Regions from separate parts of the Homo sapiens genome. Here all the other regions are linked to region 2. Evidence: promoter capture Hi-C in 16 types of primary human blood cells and fetal thymus (Javierre and others, 2016). All regions are on one chromosome and are shown on one strand. The core of a region is centred on a gene start or on the middle of the fragment in contact, and the rest is flanking DNA. Distances in the headings are between cores, read along the strand shown.

Region 1 (3,641 bases), core at 1,044-3,543, 6.4 Mb after region 2:
GGCCTACAAAAGTCCAGAATTACTAAAAAAAAGTCCTTGAAATGAACAGCCACATATTAATCACTTTTCTCCTCAGCTCAAATGTTAATTAAGCAAGTTGTAATTTAATCACTGATGTGCAATCAGAATTCATTTTACATTAATCAAACAGTAGAATATAATAATATTCAAAACCTGAGGCTTTCTTTTAAAGAGGAGCACTTCAGAGTGCTTTTGTACCTACCACATGTGAGGCATTAATTCAAGTTGGAGGACAATGACTCAGCTTGAAGGAAGGCGGAGTGGAGTAACAACCTCCCCATTCCTTTAGGAAAACTTTTCTTTCTGGCTAAGGGAGAGGAGAATGAAGTGGTTGAGAACATGCCCTCAACGTTCTGAAGACATGGAGAGATGTGTGTTACTTGTTATGTGGCTCCCTAAAAAGAAACATTACCAGTTAGAGGGACTTCAAGTAACTGAGGCCACCAATTTCTACTTTCGCTCTACTTTTTCTGGGAGTGGAACGGTCAGGTTTGCCAGTATTGTGAAAATCCATGAGGAAGCATTACTTCTCTCTTCCACTTGCCTCATTCTGAGTGGAACCCCAGAACCTGGTGTAGGGCTTAATAATCCAAGAAATTATTTTGAGTGGAGAATCTCTCACTCTCTGGCTCTTTTCTCCCAATAGTAACAATAATAATGCCTCACTTGTTAAGAGATACCGTGGTTATTGAAGTATTTTCTCAGCAAACAGATACTTCATGTTTGGGTGTATTAATGTAGGAAGATAAAGACACACATGCAGTGTTTCCTAAACTTTTTGGCTCACATGCTTCTTTGCTCATGCACAACCTAGACAAAACTATGTAACCAACTCCTGTGTACAGTTTCACGGAATTGCAGGTGCCTAACAAGATTTTCTTTTAACTACACCTGCTCACAAAATTTACACAGTAACTTGAGACAAACGTTCACAGGAAGTAGATAAAACTTTTCAATACACCGTTAAAGTCTTTCCAAAAATCTATTAACATTAAATTGTTTAGAAATTCTATACAAGTCTACTACTGTATTACCAAATAAATTCTTAAGCAAGAAAAGGGGAAAACTATCTTTTCATGCTTTCAGGCCAGTAACTAGCACTTAGTCTTCTATGTAGGGAGGTGCCCAATAAATACCGAGAGACGAACGGAACCGCTGAATCCCGTCCGCGAGGTTAGGGGAGAAACAGAAGCGGCAACGTCTCTGCTGCACGAAGCACCCGGTAACTTACTGCCTACCCCTCACTCCTGTCTAATCTTTGCTCTCAATGGATTGCTGGGTTGGTTTTGTTTTATTCATTTTTGTTCTGAAGCAAGGAAACTTAACTTCACGTGGAGGGCCACTGTAAACTGCTGCCTCCCTTAAAAAATGCATAACGAGAAGAGTAAGTTAAAACGTTTGGGGCCACACAGAAGGTTCTAGAAGTTCTGCAGACCCAAGCTGCCACAGTCCTTAATCGCATGGAATCTCACTGTAACTTTTATCTCCTCTGATTTTTTTCCGCTCCCTAACACCTAGGTAAATTAATCAAAGTGTGGCCACCGATAACGCCCTCACAGGTTTAGCTTAAATCGAATGCGTTTTCTCTCGGACTAGGGGAGATAATCCAAGAAACAAACAAAACTACACCACGTCCATCCACAACAAATCTCAACAAGCAACTTCGGTTGCCGCAGCCTCACTGTGCCCCAGGCCCCGGCCCGCCACACGCGGCCTCCGTCCGCTAACCGCCCGCGAACCGCCCGCGCGGCGAGCAGAACGCCCGAGACCGCCCGCCCGGAGCTCACCTGAGCTCCAGCTGGTCCAGGCTCTCCAGCAGGCGGCTGGAGCGGTCAGCCATGGAGGAGGAGCGGCAGAAGCGCCCCTCGTTGGCTTTAGCGTTGATCTTCGCCTGAGCCATCTAAGCCTCCGACGCGGGGTAGCCAAGAGGTCACCGGCCCCTCCGGCGGCAGCGAGTGGAGCGCTCCTTGGGCTGCAGGCGTCGCCGTCACCACGCGGGCGCCCGCCCTCCCTCTGACGCCCGCGGGGGCAACCCGGGAGGACTCGCCGACACCGCGGCTGCAGCGTAGCCAAAGAAGGGCAGGCGCGGCGCCCGCGGGGCTCGGGGACGCCGGGCCTGGGAGGGGGCTGCAGCGGCTGGAGTTAGAGGTTCGCGAGCCACACGGGCTCGAGGATGGGCCGACAGGGGCTCGGGCCTGGGGAGCGCAAGTCTCTGAGGCACGGGAGGGGCGGACGCAGAGACCGAGCGCCTAATGTGGCTAGCGGATCGTCTGCTCCCCGGACCCAGGAACTACCCGAAGCCCGCGCGGACCCACAGACCACCCCCAGCTCCGCCCCGCGAGGCCCCGCCTCTTCATGCAACCTAAAAGTAACCAACTCCCCCCACGCGAAGGTTCCTATCGGTCGACGGGCTGTGGGTGTATTGCTCAGTGACGGCTTCGTTTAGTTTCTCCCAGCACCCATAATTCAAAGCAAGAACAACGACATTATGGGGAGAAAACGTCCTTTTGTGAAACAGAAGGCAGTAAGTACAGCTCGTAGGCAGCCCACACTCACCTGACCTTCCTGTTACCACTTTATACTGAGATGAGAGTAATGAAAGCCCGGACAACACTGAAGCTATGAAGTAAAAAAGAAAAAGCTACTCCATCTTTCCCTGTCTAGCTAGATGTGGGAAGCAAAGTGAATTTACTTCATTTTTACCATTCTAATTTTCTTTTGTTTTTGAGATGGGGTCTAACTGTCGCCCACGTTGGAGTGTAGTGGCGCGATCACGACTTACTGCAGCCTCGACCTCCCGGGTTCAAGCGGTCCTCCCACCTCAGCCTCCCAAAGTGCTGGGATTACAGATGTGAACCACCACGCCTGGCTTAATGAAGGGGTTTTAAATTTTTGCTATTAAAATTATTCCTGTTGAGCGAGCCGAGATCTCGCCACTGCACTCCAGCCTGGGCGATAGAGCGAGACCTTGTCTCAAAAAAATAAATAAATAAATAAATATTCTGAGTGAAATAATTGGCATTAAAAAGTCCTCAACTTTTAAAAATCCTGTTAACAAAAAAGATGCAGTAGGCCTCTAGGTCAGGCACCAGCTGTCGGTAAAAGACGGAATAGAGCTGAGGATACAAAGATTAGTCTACTTAAAAAGTTAGGCTTTAGTCCCCTCTCCTGATAGCTCTATGCCTCTCATTGCAAGGATGACAATGTACAGGGCACAGAAAATGATAGATAATAATAGTTTAAAGCTGAGCCACCACCTTTAATCAGAGATCAAAGCCATTTAAATACTTGAACAGAGTTGAAGCCCTTAAGGCTGGATCCCAATTCCCTCTGAACTCATTTTAAATCCTAATTAACTCTTGGGGTAGGGGATTATTTGACCTTATTAAAAATAACTTTATCATGACACAAACGAAAACAAAACACATTTTGTGAGTGGTTTGAAAGTCTATCAAGTGACTTTAGAATCATCCTGAACTCTTTTTCTCTCTTATCCTAGATCCACACCATTAGTAAACCCCATCAATTTTGCCTTCAGAATATATCCAGATTCTTCCCAATTCTACCGCCACCATTCTGGTTCAAGCTACCTGGTGAGTTTGCACCTGGAATACTACAAT
Region 2 (3,575 bases), core at 717-3,216:
CCCTTCATGTAAGTAAGCACTTTCATCAGGAAGCAGAGAAAGAACTATATTAAGAATTCCCTTCCTGAAATGGTTATTTTTACTGAGTGGAGCCACCTAGTGGATGGGGGGACTCGTCTGTTAAAGCAGTGGTGGCCACCGATAGATTTCTGTTCCGCCCAAGACACTCCTCCATTCCCAATCTCCTACCCACAGGAAAAACTATCCATAATGGGGATTTTTTCCCTCCCACCTATCAGTTGCATTATAATCACAATCATATACAAGAAGGGAGAGGAGGAAAGAGTAATCTCTGTGCAGAAGCTTAAATCATTATTATACTGCAGAGTCAAGCCAATTAATGTGTGTAACTCCTTTGTCACAAACAATTCGTTGTATAGTCTGTTCCACATCTATTTAGGTCTTAGGGCACCTAAGAAAGCATGTGTAAAATGCTGCTCACTCTTGGGAATGATTTAGTTTTCTAGTTTTCAACTGACTGAGTAACAGGAAGCACTGCCTCAGGATCTAGATGTCGGGCAGGTCAACAGTTCCAATCGTAGTGTAAATAACTTAATACTCGTGGACTGGTAGGGGGCTCCGCGGACAGAAGATAAAAAACCCTCAGAATTCCGTCTCTGGTTGGCTACTGCTGCCACAAACCAACAGGAGGCAACAACATATTACACCACAGAGCTCAGGGATAGTTCTAAACAGTCCCCGATTAAAAGGCGCCATCCAGGGCCCTTCCAAAATTGGCAGGGGAAATGTATGCTGGTGCCCGGACGGGAAGTCCTTCGCGTCAGTGTAACTAACAGTAGCCCTGTCAGTTTCCAAGACGCTCCGAACCAGGCCATTTCTCGACGACTGGCCCAGAGAAAGGACAAGACTAGACTTGTTCCCATTATCACGAGCCCGAGGTGGGGCGATAAATCCGGAACAGCTCGAATTACCAGGTGGAGCCTGGGAGGAGGGCGGGGCGGACGGCCGAAGTTCTCACCTAGCAGAACCCCACTCTGGCCCGGGCAGGGGTGCAGCTCGCGGAATGCCCCAGAGGGCCGCCGCCCCGCGCACGCGGCTGTGTGCGCCCGAGCACGCCCGCTGCGCCCCCTCTCCGCGCCGCAATCACGGGTTCGCGCCGCGCCTTCAGTCAGGCGCGGGCGCCGAGGCCATTTTGTCTGAGGCTCGGGTCCCGGCCGTCGAGCACAAGAGTGTAGCTGCACCCAGTGGCTGTCCCGCGCCCACCCCGGAGCTCCGAGAAGCTCTGGAACCAGATCGTTACCACCCGTGCCTGGCTGTCCGGCCTACCCCACGCCCGCCCGGATCTGGAGGCGAACCCGCCACCGCCGCGCCCTCCCCGTATCCGGCTCCGCAGTGACACGCGCAGCCCTCGCCCCACCCCGGGCCACGTCTCCCGCTCCCAGTGCAGCCACTCTCCTCCGGCCGAACAAAGAGGCCCCGGGACGCCGCGGAGCCTGCCATGCCCGGACGGGTCGCGCCAGACCAAAGGGCCAAGGGCGGAGGCGGCGGTCACAAAGCGGCTTTTGTGCCACCCACCCGGCCCGCTGCGGAAGCCGAAACTGCCCCCGGCCGCCGCAGAAGCCGGACCGCGCCGCCCCCGTCGCTCCGGGCTCGGGAGGGACTCAAAAGCCGGTGCCTCCGGCGGCCAACCGCCACCCCGCAGCCCCGAGGGGCCCGGCATCTGCCTCCGCACAGCCGGCCGCAATCGGCCGGCCACAGGGCCATAACCCGCCCGCTCCCACCCGGGACCCACCGGAACCGCAACCCGGGGCAACCTGGAGGAGACGCCGGGCTCCGAACAAAGGCGACAGCGGGGATGGGGGGCCGGTCGTGGATTCCCAGCCCGAGAGGCGACGATGCGACGGCTACTCACAGGAATATGTTTACTCATTGAAGATTGTGGCCTAATCATACAGCCGGTCCCGAGGCGGCGGCGACACAGGCGGTGGCGGTGGCTGCAGGGCAGGAGGCGGCGGTGGTCGTGGCGGAGCGGCGGTGGCGGCGATGCAGGCGGCGGCGGGGGCACCAGACTCTACCATGCAGTGAGCGGCTCGGAGCAGAGCGCGTAGCCGAGCCGGCCCGCAGCCGAAGGAGCCAATACACGCGCCGAGGCGCCCTTGCGTCACAAGCCCTCCCCTTTATAGCCGGCGCGACGTGCAACCCTCCAGCCACCAATCGCGGCCTGGAACCGCGGGCCAGGAGCCGACAGGCGGGGGCGGAGGCCCGCCCCCTCCGGACGTCACTCCGCGGCGGCCGCCGCCGGTGTGAACCGGTTGATGAATGGCTAAGCGCCGAGTCGGAGCATCCCCGGGGCGGGGGAGGGAAGGGGCTGCCGGGAGTGCTCCGGGATGCAGGAAGCCTGAAGTTAAGAAGGGGTGGGAGCGAGAGAGATTCCGATTTATCGACTGGAAGGAATCATGCTGCAAACCACGTTTCTCATAATTAAAACGGTCCAGGAGTGCACACATGTCACATGAGGAGACTCGAAGTTTGCCTGAATCGTAAAATGCAATCCTTCTAGGGCTGGAACCGCGTCTCAGTGTCGAGCCTGCTTTCTACTGCCTTAACCACGGTCATCTTTGCCAGTGGTTTACCTTGGCACCTGGGCCCCGAGTACCTTCGTCATCAAATAATATTTATGTCGCAAGACCGCTGTACCCGGTGACTCAACACCTTGCATGCCACGGCCTTAGGCTTGGTCAAGATGAATTCTTGTCCCTGGGGGCGCTTTCAAGCGGGGAGAAACTTACCTTCGCAAAACTTAAGGCTATAGAAGATGGGGAGAGTATCTTTTGATGCAGACGAAGCCCTATGCTCCCTATATTCTTTTTTTGATCACACCTCTCTATACTACGTACGCGTGCAACTGCAGTTGGCTCAATTGTGGCATTTCGAAATCACATGCATCCTTTGTACTGCTGCTCACTTGATATGTTGTCTCAGATAATGAAAGGTTAGGAAGTGCTTAAAGAAAGCGTTTTTAGAAATTAAGAATCCTCGGTTTTGTCAAGCACTGATGTAATTCTTTGCGTCAAAGCTAAAGCTCTTCTTTATGTTCGTTTTCAGTCCTCTTTTACTGACTTCATTATTTAAGCCCCTAAGAAGTAAAGTCTTATCGCAATTCTGTGCCATACAAGGGCACCTCTGTTATTTATAATCTGAAAACCCTTTCTCCTCAGCTCTGGAGAAGGACCAAACAGGACCTTTACCTGCTTTTTAAGAACTCAGTTTTCCACTAACACTGAAGCCTTTTGTTTGTTATTTTCACCGAGTATGAGATTGGAGAGGGCTTTAGGGATCAAATTTTGTCCTCTTTCAGTGCCCTGCAACATCTTAGGATTTATTAGAACTTCTATTTAGAGACTGGTTGTATAGTTATTCAACTTTCTTAACTCTGTAAGTAAAATAAGAACTTTAAAAAAACAAAAACAAACAAAATCCTGGGCCAGACTTTCAAAGGAACAAAAACTCTTCGTCATTTGGAAGAAAATGGCTCACCTACGACACATTTTAATCCATTAAAATCAAGGAAAACTAGCACACTTGAGAAATATGTCCCTTTACAAATAAATGAT
Region 3 (3,891 bases), core at 1,374-3,873, 7.0 Mb before region 2:
AAGAAAAAAGGCCGGGCGTGGCAGCTCACGCCTGTAATCCCAACACTTCGGTAGGCCGAGGCTGATAGATCACCTGAGTTCATGGCAAAACCCTGTCTCTACCAAAAATACAAAAAATTATCTGGGTGTGGTGGTGGGCGCCTGTAATACCAGCTACTTGGGAGGCTGAGGCAGGAGAATCGTTTGAACTCAGGAGGCAGATGTTGCAGTGAGCTGAGATCTCGCCATTGCACTCCAGCCTGGGCAACAAGAGTGAAACTCCGTCTCAAAAACAAAGAAAGAAAAAAGAGGCCGGGTGCGGTGGCTCACGCCTGTAATCCCAGCACTTTGGGAGGCCGAGACGGGCGGATCACGAGGTCAGGAGATCGAGACCATCCTGGCTAACACGGTGAAACCCCGTCTCTACTAAAAATACAAAAATTAGCCGGGCGTGGTGGCGCGCGCCTGTAGTCCCAGCTACACGGGAGGCTGAGGCAGGAGAATGGCGTGAACCCAGGAGGCGGAGCTTGCAGTGAGTCGAGATCGCGCCACTGCACTCCAGCCCGGGCGACAGAGCGAAACTCCGCCTCAAAAAAAAAAAAAAAAAAAAAGAAAAAAGAAAGAGGTATTTCACAAAAAGTGAATATTTGAAAAGATGTTTTACTTCTTTAATCAGAGAAAAGCAAAATCACAATGAGGTGTCATTTCATTTCCCTGTAGGCAGCCAAAAATTAAAACCTAAGGCAAAATTAAGTTTCGGCAAGTTTGTGGAACAACAGAACTCCAATACACTGCTGGTAGAAGTGAAAATTGCTATAGAATTAGAAAATGCCGTTACACCTTGGCATTATATTGTAACAATGAAAAGACCTATAACATACTCCAGGAATTCTACTCCTTCCACTAATGCACAAATAAGGTACACAAGAATGTGTAGCACCCAATCCTAGTGTTTCTGGAATTACCCAAATGTCCTTTGAGAAGGGCACTGGAAAATGCATCATATGTTCACACAGTTGAATGAATAACTACAACCTCATGCGTCAATGTGACTCAATCACAAAACACAGCGTTATCTGAAAAAAAATCAACAATATGAAAACATTTCTATAAAGATTAAAAACACCATTGCACAGTTGTATCAGGAAGCAGCAAATAGAGACCTCCTTGGCAATAGAGACTATTTCTTAAATTGGAGTATAAGTTCATAGATGCTGGTTGTGCTTCATAGCTTACATGACTGCTACATAGCTTACATGTGTGCTACGTGTGTGTGTGTGTATACATATATATATATGGAATAATTCATAATTGTTTAAAACTAGTTAAAGGGGGATGTTGAATGAACCCTACAAAATTTTAACGTTATTACCTTGAGGTTTGGATAATGTAGGACTTTCACTTTCTGTATTATTCATTTCTGGACTATTTAAAACTTATACAATTAAGTAAAATGTTTGTATTTGGGTAAAATGATTGCACAAAGGAAAACAAATTGCATAGAAATCTGGCACCATTTGAGGGCAATAATTACTGTTTTCAACTTACATAACTTCTCCAGGTGTCATATATTAAAATTATGTTTTGCGGACCGGGCGCGGTGGCTCACGCCTGTAATCCCAGCACTTTGGGAGGCCGAGGCGAGCGGATCACAAGGTCAGGAGATCGAGACCATCCTGGCTAACACGGTGAAACCCCGTCTCTACTAAAAATACAAAAAATTAGTCAGGCACGGTGGCGGGCGCCTGTAGTCCCAGCTACTCAGGAGGCTGAGGCAGGAGAATGGCGTGAACCTGGGAGGCAGAGCTTGCAGTGAGCCGAGATTGCGCCACTGCACTCCAGCCTGAGGGACAGAGCGAGACTCCATCTCAAAATAAATAAACAAATAAATAAATAAATAAATAAAATTATGTTTTGCATAGTCTGGGCTGCTAACTGTATTATCTTGAGAAAAATTTCCAACAACAATGGGTTTAAAAATGTTGGTTTTACTGAAAGCATGAATGCTTTTTCTGTACTGACAATTCCTGGCTTCATCTAATTTACGTTATACTTATTTGCCTTTGGCTCACTTCTGCACTTTTCCCATTTTTAAAAGATAAACTGTAAACTGCCACAAATCCTTTTCTGCTGGAGCCTGGACCAGGAGCGCGGATTCCTGTAAATAATGATGTAAATAAATAAGTAAATCAATGACTCCCATTCCCAAAGGGCCTTCTTTTCCATTTTTCTCTGGGGCATCGAAGTGCGGTGTGCCCTGCGAGCTCCCACAGGAACAACCCGGAACGTTTGTGGTCCTGTTGGGCCACCGCGTGCTCGGTAGGAAGCGGACGTCCCGGGGGCTGAAAGGGCCTTAGCGATTTTCTCGCTCTAGTCCCACCCGAGACCCGGGGCGCTGCAGGAACCTGCCCAGGCCACCGGGTGGGCGGCTGGGCGGGAGAAGCTGGGCAGCCCCTGGCAACACCGAACGGCCAGGACACACGCGGCTTCCTCCGCGGGAGGCGCTTCTCTCTGCGCCTGGGCCTTCACGACCCCTCCCGCGACCGTGGCCCCGAGGCCAGGTGCTTACTTGCCGCTCTCCACGCCGTGGCCGAGACCCAGCTAAGCAACCAGGGAAGCCTCGATGGGGTCATGGCGCCGACTCCCCGAGCCTCCGCGCAGGCGCAAAGCAGTAGTGGGAGGAGCAGGGGGCATGATCCGGAGCCTCCCTGCAGAGGGCGGGGCCTCCGTGGCCGGCTTTAGAAAAGGAGTTAGAGGCATCCCTGGGCTCTTTGGCCAAGAGAGACCCAGGCTACCTTGAGCCCGGTGTTAAAACGCCAAATCGTGGCTGCAGTTAGAAGAGGGAATAATTCCGTTCCGTTCATGCTTGTCAGTCTGAGCCGAAATGGCCCGTGGAAGATCCCTTTTATAGTTTACAAAGATTGAGCACCTTTTACTCTCTCACTCATGTAAAATGCTTCTTTTACCTAATTCTCCCTGTTTTGTGTTTTAAATCTTTGTTCAGTCAGCTCCTAGTTCGTCCATTCTGACCGACTAACCAGATGATATGAAAGGCGACATTTTTGAATGAGGTGCAAAGCAAGAAAAGGCTCTCCATCCAGGCCAGGATCCAGTGCAATGAGCTCTGCCCCTTAACCCTTACATCCCACCAGCTCTGATAGCGTTGAGTGGATGTGGCAGACCTGGATGCTTTGTGCAACTCGTGGAAATATTTACAGAATCATAGTGAAGGCCCCCAGAATTCTGGAATTTTGTCTTTTCTTTTAAAGAAAAGTTTCTGGCTAGCTATTGCGCCTTGGTAGTGTCTGACCATGTGACATCAAGTGGTTATACGATCGAAGCTTCTTATCATGAACTGAGAATTATCTGGTTCTCCTAGATAAGGAGATCCTTTTACGAAGAGAAAGTGGGCCGGGCAAGGTGGCTCACTCCTGTAATCCGAACACTTTGGGAGGCCGAGGCGGGTAGATTACCTGAGGTCAGGAGTTCGAGACCAGCCTGGCCAACACTCTACTAAAAATACAAAAATTAGCCGGGCGAGGTGGCACATTCCTGTAATCCCAGCTACTTGGGAGGCTGAGGTAGAAGAATCGCTTGAACTCGGGAGGCGGAGATTGCAGTGAGCAGAGATCACGCCACTGCACGCCAGCCTTGGAGACAGAGCAAAACTCCATCTCAAAAACAGAAAAAGAAAAAAGAGAGAAAGTGGGATACACAGAACTGGGCCAAAGTCAAAACGGAAACAGTTTTCATTTGTAGGGAGCTCACAGTCCTAATATCATGCTTTTGACCTTTAGCTTATATCTACAGTTTAATAATGAATTCCTTGTGACTAGCTGACTGAGGAAAAAATTCAAAGTCGGATGATGGCTTTGCTCAATAAACTGGCCCAGCTGGCAACTGACTGCTTTT
Region 4 (4,058 bases), core at 774-3,273, 6.2 Mb before region 2:
ACATATACACCATGGAATACTATGCAGCCATAAAAAAGGATGAGTTCATGTTCTTTGTAGGGACATGGATGAAGCTGGAAAACATCATTCTCAGCAAACTATTGCAAGGACAGAAAACCAAACACCACATGTTCTCACTCATAGGTGGGAATTGAACAATGAGAACACTTGGACACAGGAAGGGGAACATCACACACTGGGCCCTGTTGTAGGGTGGGGGAAAGTGGGGAGGGATAGCATTAGGAGATATACCTGATGTAAGACTAGTTAATGGGTGCAGCACCTCAACATGGCACATGTATGCATATGTAACAAATCTGCACGTTGTGCACATGTACCCTAGAACTTAAAGTATAATAATAATAATAATAATAATAATAATAATAATAAAAGAGTGTGCCTGGTTATGTCGTTATCTGGTTGGGTGCAGTCTCTATTGATTAGGTGAACATCTGGTCCCTTTTGGCATGATTCCTTTTGAAATGTAAACAGAATCTTTTTCTAAGAAGTAGTTACTTATGTCAAGGGTGCTCTATACAATCTGGAATAGAGATATCAACCTGGAAGCGATACCTCTCTTCACTTTAAGGAAGCTATGACAGAGGTCTCCAGGGATATGAATTATTAGGAAGAAAGAGTGAAATTCAAACATTTGCAGGTCTAGAGGGCTTAAAGCCAGCTTATGATGGTACCAGTTCAAGTTAAAACTGTATTCTCCCCTATTCCCTTCTTATTCTGTCCAGGCAGGAAGGACCATCCTATTTTTTCCCTCAGGCTTCCAGCCGGAAGTAGATTATAGGTAGAGCATAACTCATCACCACATAATACATTGGAAAAAGATGATGGTATTTTTTCTCAGAGTTGTTTCTTGACTACATCACAGTGGTGAAACATGCACTCACACCCCTGTGGACTCAGGTAAGCCATCCCAAGAGTTTCCTCCCTGTGGACTCAGGTAAGCCATCCCAAGAGTTTCCTCCTTCTTCTTCATTGTGGGCCTATGGCAGTGTGTTTTGTTTGCTGATGCATATACCTTTACATACAAAGCTATCATGGAAATTCACAGGCATGCATACATCTGAATAGAAAGGCTATAACATCATGTGATAAGTTCATGTCCAGCCAACCAGTTATCCCGGCTGGGCACCAGTGCCAGTAAATTAGAGTGATTTGGGCAGCTAGTCAACTTTTATTCAGAGTCAGCTGTCTCATGCGTCCGTGTGAAGAGACCACCAAACAGGCTTTGTGTGAGCAACATGGCTGTTTATTTCACATGGGTGCAGGCGGGCTGAGTCCGAAAAGAGAGTCGGCAAAGGGTGGTGGGATTATCATTGGTTCTTACAGTTTTTCGGATAGGAGGTGGAGTGAAGAGCAATGTTTTGGGGGTAGGGGGTAGATCTCACAAAGTACATTCTCAAGGGTGGGGAGAATTACAAAGAAACTTCTTAAGGGTGGGGGAGATTATAAAGAACATTGATCAGTTAGGGTGGGGCAGAAACAAATCACAATGGTGGAATGTCATCAGCTAAGCTATTTTCACTTCTGTGGATCTTCAGTTGCTTCAGGCCAGCTGGATGTATACGTGAAGGTCACTGGGGATATGATGGCTTAGCTTGGGCTCAGAGGCCTGACATCAGCCATTCTTGCAACCTGGTAAGGAGTTCTGCTAATCACACACATTCCACCTTGTACACGAGGGCCAAACTTCCTTTTGGTGAAGAAGTATAAACCTCTAAAATTGACTTGGATCTCCAGGTCCACCTAGCCCATTCTTTGTGGAGTTCCCTTGCTGTTCTAGTCTATCAACTTAGGCTGAGTCAAATATCTCAATAGGTTGCCCAGCTATGAGCCAACACCCTGCTCTGCAGCCCTCCCACATCTCAGCTTGCAGGGAAGCCAGCGAGGGCAGCGTGGTGATGTCACTGCGTCCGCACGCGCCCCGCCCCTGAGCAGTCCTTGCTGCCCCGCCCCCGCTCGGCTCGCCGCCAGGGGACGCTAGTGGGTCCAGTCTCCTTGGCAACCACTTGCTCCTCCCCCTCCGCCCCTTTAACCTTTAGGGTGCGCGGGTGCAGTATATCTCGCGCTCTCTCCCCTTTCCCCCTCCCCTTTCCCCACCCCGGGCGCTCAGGTTGGTCTGGACCGGAAGCGAAGATGGCGACTTCTGGCGCGGCCTCGGCGGAGCTGGTGATCGGCTGGTGCATATTCGGCCTCTTACTACTGGTAGGGGAGGCGCTTGGAGTTTTCCCCATGTTTGGACTGGGGGAGGAAGGGAGGGGCAGGCCCTGCAGTTGGCCTCTCCGGGCCCCGGAGACCCTCTTCGCCCCGCCCCGCTTTTAGCTTGGACTGTGGAGGGCTCCTTAGTGTTGGGGGCTTGGGCGGGCGGCGGGGGCAGGGGGGTGTCGATTTCCGGTCTCTTTTGCTGTCATTTCACCGATGACGTCTAGGGTTGCAGGGTCCTTTTTGGAAGCTCTTGCCGTCATCGCTGACTTGGGCAATGGGGCCGGTGGGGTTTGGGGGCGGAAGAGACCCTCGGGGTTGAGAAGTATGTGGTGGCCTTTCGTCCCCTGTAAAACATTGTCACACGGTGTGGGGCGGCAGCGCTGGATCTTTGCAAGTTAAGTAGGCGCTGGCGTTGTTTACTTGTCACCTTCTCTGTATGTTTTTTCCCTCATTTTCCCTACCCTTGGGGCTAGTGAGTCTCCAACCTCTGTGCCCATTGTGTGATTCTGCCTTGATGACGTGAGTTGCTCGTTCTGACTTCCAGGTGTCACATTCTCTTCTAATCTTTTTTTGATTGGTGTAGATACCTGTGGAGGGCGGAGCTGTAGCCCTCTTTATTACCAGTATCGGAGTATATACTACTACCTGTCTGACCTCAGGTGCTTTCTTTTCCAACGATCTTATTTCTGCATATTCAGTGAGCAAAGTGTAGATAGAAATGTCTCAGAGTGGCCTGGCTATTACTTCCCTGTTCATATTAAAACCCTTTGGTTTATTTGGGAGTTCAATTTATTTCCTTTCATAACTTCTCTACCTTCTCAAATCTTCTCTTTTCTCATCGTCCGAGGCTGTAGTTACTTTCTGTTCTCACGTATTTTGACCTTTTTGCATTGCAAAACAAAAACCTCCAGTTCTGGAAATCAGGCTTGTTTGGTTTTACTTTAATTGTCAGATCCAGTTGGTGTCTGGTACCTATGTAGTATGTTCTAGTAGATTTTTGCAGTAGAGACTAAAAAAAGAAAATAAAAGAAAAGAATGGTGTGAAAATTTAAGAAAAGGATCCTCTTGTTACTGCCATCACTGTCACAGATAAAAACACTGCCTTTACCCTGGAACATGTTAGTCCTCTCTTGGAGGAAATGAAACCCTAAAGGTTGACTGTGGTCTCTGCAGCCACCCAGTCCTGTATTTGGAGAGCCCCCTGGCTTTTCCAGTCCATCAGATTTAGTTTGTTTAGAAAAAAATAAATAAGCATGTAATGTATGAAAGTTACGTGAGACTATCTTGGCAGTTATAAATTAATAAACATTTACGGTACAGAAGTGGTGTGAATTGTAAGAGGATGTAAACCAAACAAAATACGGCTTTAAAGAGGGCCTGAAGATAAGTGAGAAAACTGAAATTCTTGAAACATGTATTTTATGGACCGAAAGCCAAAGTGTGACTATAAATAAAGCAGGACTTAAGAGAATAGACAACAATATTGGAAGAAAATGAGAATTGTGGTAGAGTTTGGATAGATGAAGAAGAGAGGCCATTTAAGTTGGCAATATTACAGCAAGGACAAATAAAATCAGAATTGAATGTTGTCGTGGATAAAAGCATTAGGAAGAAGGACTTTTGTTTAAATTTCTGCAAATCTCTTTAAATCCTGGTTTATTAGAAGAAAGGCTGGTTTCTTTTGTTGCCTTCTACATTCAGTCTTTTGGGGTATGTTATTTTAGTCGAAGTGTATGGAGAAAATACAGCTGCAATGATAGGTAGTCAGAAACAGAGGAGCGTTTTTCAGATAATTGTGGATGTTTTTTGACACTACACCAAAGCTCAACAAGTGGAAG

The links. The method cuts DNA at HindIII sites, captures the fragments that hold promoters and counts their contacts. A CHiCAGO score of 5 or more calls a contact.
Region 1: the fragment with the promoter of BAG2 here is called in contact with a fragment that was not itself captured in region 2 in 2 of 17 cell types (naive CD8 T cells and total CD8 T cells); the score reaches 7.0 in naive CD8 T cells.
Region 3: a contact is called between the fragment with the promoter of SDHAF4 here and a fragment that was not itself captured in region 2, in 1 of 17 cell types (total CD8 T cells). The highest score is 5.7, in total CD8 T cells.
Region 4: the fragment with the promoter of LMBRD1 here is called in contact with a fragment that was not itself captured in region 2 in 1 of 17 cell types (non-activated CD4 T cells); the score reaches 5.4 in non-activated CD4 T cells.

Annotation. Positions count from the first base shown.
Region 1 is chr6:57,170,978-57,174,618 of GRCh38, reverse strand. It overlaps BAG2 (BAG cochaperone 2), which reads right to left and starts at 2,293. Exons shown (of 3, transcript NM_004282.4): 1 at 1,809-2,293. The coding sequence starts at 1,921. ZNF451-AS1 (ZNF451 regulatory antisense RNA 1) reads left to right here and starts at 2,406. Exons shown (of 4, transcript NR_110742.1): 1 at 2,406-2,545; 2 at 3,521-3,614. RefSeq lists an enhancer at 1,389-2,146 and silencers at 1,881-2,150, 2,201-2,280. The HindIII fragment of the contact is 6,211 bases long and covers 1-3,641 here.
Region 2 is chr6:63,571,018-63,574,592 of GRCh38, reverse strand. PTP4A1 (protein tyrosine phosphatase 4A1) reads right to left here and starts at 2,113. Exons shown (of 6, transcript NM_003463.5): 1 at 1,874-2,113. It overlaps LOC124901228 (translation initiation factor IF-2-like), which reads left to right and starts at 1,025. Exons shown (of 2, transcript XM_047419610.1): 1 at 1,025-1,061; 2 at 1,163-3,575. The coding sequence starts at 1,025. The coding sequence ends at 1,908. It overlaps LOC128125822, which reads right to left and starts at 2,113. Exons shown (of 2, transcript NM_001415059.2): 1 at 1,874-2,113. The coding sequence starts at 1,912. It also overlaps a transcript of LGSN not described here. RefSeq lists enhancers at 182-917, 612-981, 918-1,653, 2,035-2,329, 1,654-2,389 and 1 more and silencers at 1,522-1,651, 1,952-2,371. The HindIII fragment of the contact is 3,322 bases long and covers 306-3,575 here.
Region 3 is chr6:70,565,662-70,569,552 of GRCh38, reverse strand. SDHAF4 (succinate dehydrogenase complex assembly factor 4) reads right to left here and starts at 2,623. Exons shown (of 3, transcript NM_145267.3): 1 at 2,549-2,623. The coding sequence starts at 2,612. RefSeq lists a silencer at 2,276-2,335. The HindIII fragment of the contact is 5,796 bases long and covers 1-3,322 here.
Region 4 is chr6:69,794,975-69,799,032 of GRCh38, reverse strand. It overlaps LMBRD1 (LMBR1 domain containing 1), which reads left to right and starts at 2,023. Exons shown (of 16, transcript NM_018368.4): 1 at 2,023-2,220. The coding sequence starts at 2,152. RefSeq lists enhancers at 2,102-2,331, 1,960-2,515, 2,642-2,691, 2,516-3,072. The HindIII fragment of the contact is 19,066 bases long and covers 1-4,058 here.